Linked DNA regions of Homo sapiens: region 1 is linked to region 2. Evidence: promoter capture Hi-C in 16 types of primary human blood cells and fetal thymus (Javierre and others, 2016). All regions are on one chromosome and are shown on one strand. The core of a region is centred on a gene start or on the middle of the fragment in contact, and the rest is flanking DNA. Distances in the headings are between cores, read along the strand shown. Region 1 overlaps DNAH9 (dynein axonemal heavy chain 9). Region 2 holds the start of MYH3 (myosin heavy chain 3).

Region 1 (3,331 bases), core at 727-3,226, 1.3 Mb before region 2:
TGAACTCTGGGTGATAATGATGTATGAGTATAGATTCATCAGTTATAAGAAAAGTACCACTCTGGTGGGGAATTTGAGAGTCGAGGAAGGATAATTTGTCTTTGAGGACAGCAGGTGTATGGGAAATCTCCATACCTTCTGTGCAATTTTGCTGTGAACTTAAAGTTACTCTAAAAATAAGGTCTAATAAATTTAAAAATATATGCAATACTTAATTTTTAACACCCTTCAGAAATCTAACATCATTTTGAAAGCAGAGGAACATAATATGTGTAACTTGGCTTTCTTAAAAATTTCCCACATCTGCTTATAATAAGATTATAATGTATTCTGACAATAATTTTACACATACTAATTGAATGTGCAAGTGATGGAACTCCAAAGAATGTTCTGTCTCAGCTTGTCAGTGAAGCAGGGACAGCCCTGGAGAAGAGAACCAGGAGTCATTTAGGAAAAGAAGAAAATAAAAAATCATTGGCTGGGCATGGTGGCTCACACCTGTAATCCCAGCACTTTGTGGTGGAGGTAGGTGATTCAGCTGAGGTTGGGAGTTTGAGACCAGCCTGACCAACATGGAGAAACCCCCTCTCTACTGAAAATACAAAATTAGCCAGGCATGCTGGCGCATGCCTGTAATCCCAGCTACTCAGGAGGTTGAGGCAGGAGAATTGCTTGAACCTGGGAAGTAGAGGTTGCGGTGAGCTGAGATTGCGCCATTGCACTCCAGCCTGGACAACAAGAGCAAAACTCCGTCTCAAAGAAAAAAAAAAAAAGTCTCAAGCTATACTACAGCAAAGACACCTACTTATGTTAATTCAACCAGTTTCCTAAACTCCTCTGGCCTGAATCCTGTTTAACAGCGATTAATATTCACACTTGCTCACAGGTCAAGAGTCAACAAAGAGAAAACTTAAAACACTGGACCCTTCGCTCAAGAAAATGCTGCATTTCAGGGTCTACAAGGTGCTTCCTCGGTTTTGGCATTGCAATGAAACTCTGGGAGAACTACAGGCTGGGTGGCCCCTTTTCAGGATAGGAGGGCTATCTGGCTGTGACCTTAACCCTTTCATTCATCCCTATCAATAAATGCTTTCATAATCTTTCTTTGGCATAATACAGAGTGAAAACCTCATTTTTCCTGTAGGTCTTCGTTCTTTTAAGTCAGGGAGCCTGTTAAAAGCTTGGATTTGTAGGCTGTAGTCCAAACTAAGGACTCATACCTCTGGGAATGAGGCCAGGAACTTCCATTTGAAAAGGGCGCCTCTGATCTCTGATGTGTCTGAAGCAGCTGTTGCCCTGGGCTCACGGTCATGCAGCGGGCGTTCAGTCCACAGAGGGCCAGGGGACAGGGCAGCAGCACCCAGGTCCTCCCTCCTGGAGGGGCTCCATGCTGTAGCCTGTCCTGAGGCTTAGCTCCTCTCTGTTTTTTCTACCCTATGAAGATGTTCTTGGCGAGGAGCTTTCATTTGTTTAAGACACTGGGAGCTGAGGACATGGGAAGAAGTGAAAGTGATAAGGGTCCCACTCCTTCCAGGCTGGCCTCCAGGCTGGGTTGGCAGCAGCCTTTCTATTCAGGTATTCTGGTAGAGTACTGGAAGGCCAAAGGCATAGAGGCCAGGATAGCTGCTCAGTGGGTGGGGATGAAAGGGCCATAGCACGGCCCACCCTTCCAGACCTGAACTATTCAAGTCAACACACAGTGCATCAGAATAAAGAGCCAGAGGAGGCCGGGTGCGGTGGCTCACGCCTGTAATCCCAGCACGTTGGGAGGCCGAGGCGGGTGGATCACTTGAGGTCAGGGGTTCGAGACCAGCCTGGCCAACACGGTGAAACCTCATCTCTAGTAAAAAACACAAAAATTAGCCGGGCACGGTGGCAGGCACCTGTAATTCCAGCTACTTGGGAGGCTGAGGCAGGAGAATAGCTTGAACCCAAGAGGTGGAGCTTGCAGTGAGCCGAGATCGTGTCACTGCACTCCAGCCTGGCAACAGAGTGAGACTCCGTCTCAAAAAAAAAAAAAAAAAAAAAAAGAGCCAGATTAGATCCCCAGTCAGCAAGCCAGACTTTAAAACTTGAACAGCTTCACATCTTTAGAAACAGATTTTGTCAATCAGGAGGGGCAATCAACCACTGAAGCATAGAAAAAAAGCCTGATGCCATCACACGTTTGAATGATAAAAATCAGTTCCTGGCCAGGCGTGGTGGCTCACACCTGTAATCCCAGCACTTTGGGAGGCCGAGGTGGGTGGATCACAAGGTCAGGAGTTTGAGACCAGCCTGGTCAATAAGGTGAAACCCCGTCTCTACTAAAGAAACACAAGAATTAGCTGGGCGTGCTGGCGGGAGCCGGGAGGCTGAGGCAGGAGAATCGCTTGAACCCGGGAGACAGAGGTTGCAGTGAGCTGAGATCGCACTACTGCACTCCAGCCTGGGCAACAGAGCAAGACTCTGTCTCAAAAAAAAAAAAAAAAAAAAAAAAAAATAGTTCCCAGCCCCTCCCAGATTCTGGGCTGGCCATGGCTCCATCTAAGATATGCACTGCCTAAATGAAATAGAATGCAAACCACATATGAGAGCCACATAGGTAATTAAAAATTTTCTGGAATTCACATTTTAAAAGTAAAAAACCAAACAGGTGAATTTAACTTTTATTTAACTCAATATATCTAAAATACCAAACATCATTTCAATATATAATAAATATAAAATTACTAGACTATTTTATAGTTTTTGGTCTTATGGCTTTGAAATGTGGTGTGTAATTTAAGCTTATAGCACATCTCAATTTGGACTATTCCATTTCAAGGCTCAGTAGGCACCTGTCATTAATGGCTACTGTATTGGGCATTAAAAGTCTAAGAACTTGTCTTCTGTAGTTTTCCTACATAGGGAGATAATTTCTGGGCAGTCTGTTGTCAGTATATGCCCCTTTGAAAATGATGCCTAGTTGTTATTGAAACAGAATAAATTGGCCATTGGGCATTTGGTACATCAGGCTTTTGTGAGTTTGGTTAGTGAAAGTCAATACCCCTTCCAGTCAGCTCTGGGATAATCACAGGACCTGGTTCCTCATCTTGTGAGGCTGAGAGACAGATGTCTAACTGTGGTGAATTCCCAAAAGAATTCCTTTCTATGGGAACATATTTGTGGCCCCCAGATGATGCCTTCCTTTACCACTTTTGTGTGCTTTGAGCTCCTGTAGTCCTCAAGGCTTTCATTGCTGTGCTTTTCAGTAGCTAATACTTTTTAGGTAGACATTATGGCCTCCCATCCAGCCAAATATGAAGTATGGTGAATAACAATATCTTTTTCATGAATGCTAACAGTGTTG
Region 2 (3,246 bases), core at 221-2,720:
ATGTCAGTCTCACCTGGAGGGAGAGGGGCAGTGGGTGGGGGCAACGCTCAGTGGCTGGTGGACAGGCAAGGGGTGAGTGAGCCCTGCCCAACTGACTCCATTGGCGGCCACTGGCCTTGCCTGGCATTCACGGAACAGGCGCTTCATAAACTTGTTGCTTCAATGTGAAATCACCTCAATTTTGTAAATGCGTCTGTAGCATCCACAGGACTCATCATCTAGAATTCAAACCCTTAAGGGTAAAGGCTGCGTCTTCTGTTTCCTCTGCGTCTTCTCGAAGCACTGTGTGTAAGGGCCAGAGCACAGAGGATGTTTCATACACGTGCCTTTGCCCTGAGACCGCAGCCCTGCCTCCCCGGTCCCACGCAGACCTCATGGAGTGGCCTCCACTTCGGGGCTTGGTACTGCTGTGTACGGAAGGGGCGGTTTCTATGGGAAACATGGACAAACAGTTCTATTTGGAATAAGCAACCACAGGGTGCCCACCCAGCCATCCTCCCAAAGATTTGTCAAGAAAAAAAAAGTAGAACGAGAATGGGCAAAAGCGTCCGACATACTTTACTCTTCTCTTGAGGCTTTATTTTTCCACTCCTGATTTAGAGATGACCACATTTGTTAGACAGCCCCCCCTTGTCCGCCCTTTCTCTGCAGGCCACCACCGTTCCCCCTACCCCATCCCAGCCAGCAGCTGGTCTTTCCTAATTGGTAATCTGTCTTAATAGCCACAGGTCCTCAGGCAGCTGTCGCCGGGAATACGAGCTGGCAGCATAGATCCACGTCACTAACTTAACTGGCTGGTCCTATTAGAGCTTAAGAAAGAATTAAGTTAATAATGATACTAATGAGACAGAACGTTGCATAGGAGAAAATAAGAGAAAGAAGGAGAGGAGTAGAAGGAGGAGAAGGGAGAAGAGGGCAAGGGGGGAGGGGAATTATTGCTATTAATTATTATTATTATTAATTATTCCTGGCACAGGTTTTGCAATCACAACCCAAGGTTGTGATAAAATCTTGCTCAAAATTCAAAAAGGATTTCAACTTTTCACTCTCAGTCTTATTCACTTTTCCATATGATGAGATTTCTAAGTAAGCCACCCGACTTCAGTCCTTGGTGCCCAATAGCTAGGGGCTCACGCCGCGTTCAGGGTGTGATGAGCGCCTGAGAACGGAGGTGGCTGCCCCCGCAACTCCTCCTGGAGTGAGGCCATCCCATCCCATCAGGGGAGGGAGCACCGGCCCCAAGTTCAGAGAAAGGCATCCCAAGCTCCTGACATTCTGCGGTCGGAAAATGGTGATGGATCCTGCTCATTTCTAATTATACCTTTCCCTTGGCAACGACAAAGATACGTGTGGAAGAAGCTGGTTCTCGGCTTGGGGGGGCCACTCATCCTCTTGCCAAATATAGAGAAGGAATGAGCCGCGGGGGTTACCAATGGCCTATAAAAGCCCCGGGGAGCAGCCAGCCCTCTGTGGCTCGCTTGTGGGCGGAGGTAAGTCACAGGCTCCTCTTCTAGGTCTCAGCTGCTTGGAGCACACCCACCCGGTGAGCACATCCACACCCCGTGCGTGGTTCCCTGGCCCTGCCTGGCTCTGCTGAGGTGGCGCCTCATGCCTTTCTGAGTTTTCTTAGGATAAGCAAGGTGTAGAGAGCGAGGTTCCCTGGGCCCAAACACCCAGCACCCTCTGGCTCCAGCACCTCCCCCAAGCAGGAGCCCTGCAGGTTCTCTCTCCTCCACACACTCTCCCCTGTCCTCCTCTCCAAGTGTCCTCTTGGGCAGGATCCTTTTGGATGCCCCGTGAGCCCAGCTGCCATGGCTTGACCTTCTCCCATTGCCTCTGTGACCCATGAAGGGTCAACAGGACTGGGGACCTCACTCTGCCCTCACCTTCCCCACCTGGGCTGTACATCTGCCAGGTGTCTTGTCCTCTCAAGACCACACTGGCTGTGGGCATTGCGTGTAAATTAATCTCAGAGATATTGCCTGTTCACAGACAAGGAGACCTGCCCCTGCCCTCGAACTGTTGACTTTAAGCAGGGATGCGGTCCCTGCTGTCCGATTCTAAATGGGAGTGAGGAAGACTGAAGAAGGTGCCAGTGCAGGCTGAGAGAAACCAGATTTCTGCACAGCTGAGGGTTTTTCCTCCCTGCCTGGCTTCCTGTGGGTCACGTCCCATCTGCTCTTCCATCTTCCAGCCTGCCTCTTTAAAGTATTAGTCTTTTTTTTTTTTTTTTTTTTTTTTGAGACAGAATTTTGCTCTTGTCGCCCAGGCTGGAGTGCAATGGCACAATCTCGGCTCACTGCAACCTCTGTCTCCCAGGTTCAAATGATTCTCCTGCCTAAGCCTCCAGAGTAGCTGGGATCACAGGCATCTGCCGCCACGCCCAGCAATTTTTTAAATTTATTTTTTATTTTTAGTAGAGAAGGGGTTTCACTATGTTGGCCAGACTGGTCTCAAACTCCTGACCTCAGGCCATCTTTCCGCCTCGGCTTCCCAAAGTGCTGGGATTACAGGCGTGAGCCATGGCGCCTGGCCCCTTTATCCTTTTTAGTTAACTCGTCAGAAGCCGATTCTACATGGACGCAGCCACCCCAAGTGCCGCTAAGTTGTGTATGTGCATATTCTTCCAGGTCTGGGATCTCCTGGCTGTTGCTGTCTTCTGCTCTCATCCTGCAGGTGGGACTCTCAGGTGAGAAGTTGGGCCCTGTCCCTCGGCTGTTGGAGATCTCCAGGCAATCCAAGCTTGCCAGTTCCTTTCTCCCTCCTCCCACCGGCCATAAGGGCACAGAGGGACAGGGGAACTAGCACATTTAGACAAGGACAGGTCGTGGCCGGGTGCAATGGCTCACACCTGTAATCCCAGCACTTTGAGAGGCCGAGGTGGGCAGATCATGAGGTCAGGAGTTCAAGACCAGCCTGACCAACATGGTGAAACCCCGTCTCTACTAAAAATAGAAAAATTAGCAGGACGTGGTGGCAAGTGCCTGTAATCCCAGCTACTCAAGAGACTGAGGCAGGAGTATCGCTTGAACCTGGGAGGCAGAAGTTGCAGTTAGTGGAGATCGTGCCACTGCACTCCAGTCTGTGACAGAGTGAGACTCCATCTCAAAAAAAAAAGGCAAGGACAGGTCAGGCGGGAGAGGAGGTGGCATTTGGGGGACTGTCAAACAGATGCTGATGTCAGATGCTTGATTTTGTTCTTAGCAACCCAAGGAAGCAAAAGGCAGGTTCCCGCATACGAGCGTG

The links. The method cuts DNA at HindIII sites, captures the fragments that hold promoters and counts their contacts. A CHiCAGO score of 5 or more calls a contact.
Region 1: a contact is called between a fragment that was not itself captured here and the fragment with the promoter of MYH3 in region 2, in 1 of 17 cell types (endothelial precursors). The highest score is 6.6, in endothelial precursors.

The regions. Positions count from the first base shown.
Region 1 is chr17:11,946,924-11,950,254 of GRCh38, reverse strand. All of the region lies in intron 67 of DNAH9 (dynein axonemal heavy chain 9), which reads right to left. Among named protein-coding and RNA genes, the nearest start is that of ZNF18, 49 kb to the left of the region's middle. RefSeq lists enhancers at 1,010-1,509, 1,510-2,011. The HindIII fragment of the contact is 1,588 bases long and covers 1,183-2,770 here.
Region 2 is chr17:10,655,533-10,658,778 of GRCh38, reverse strand. MYH3 (myosin heavy chain 3) reads left to right here and starts at 1,470. Exons shown (of 41, transcript NM_002470.4): 1 at 1,470-1,490; 2 at 2,631-2,689. The HindIII fragment of the contact is 3,770 bases long and covers 1-2,744 here.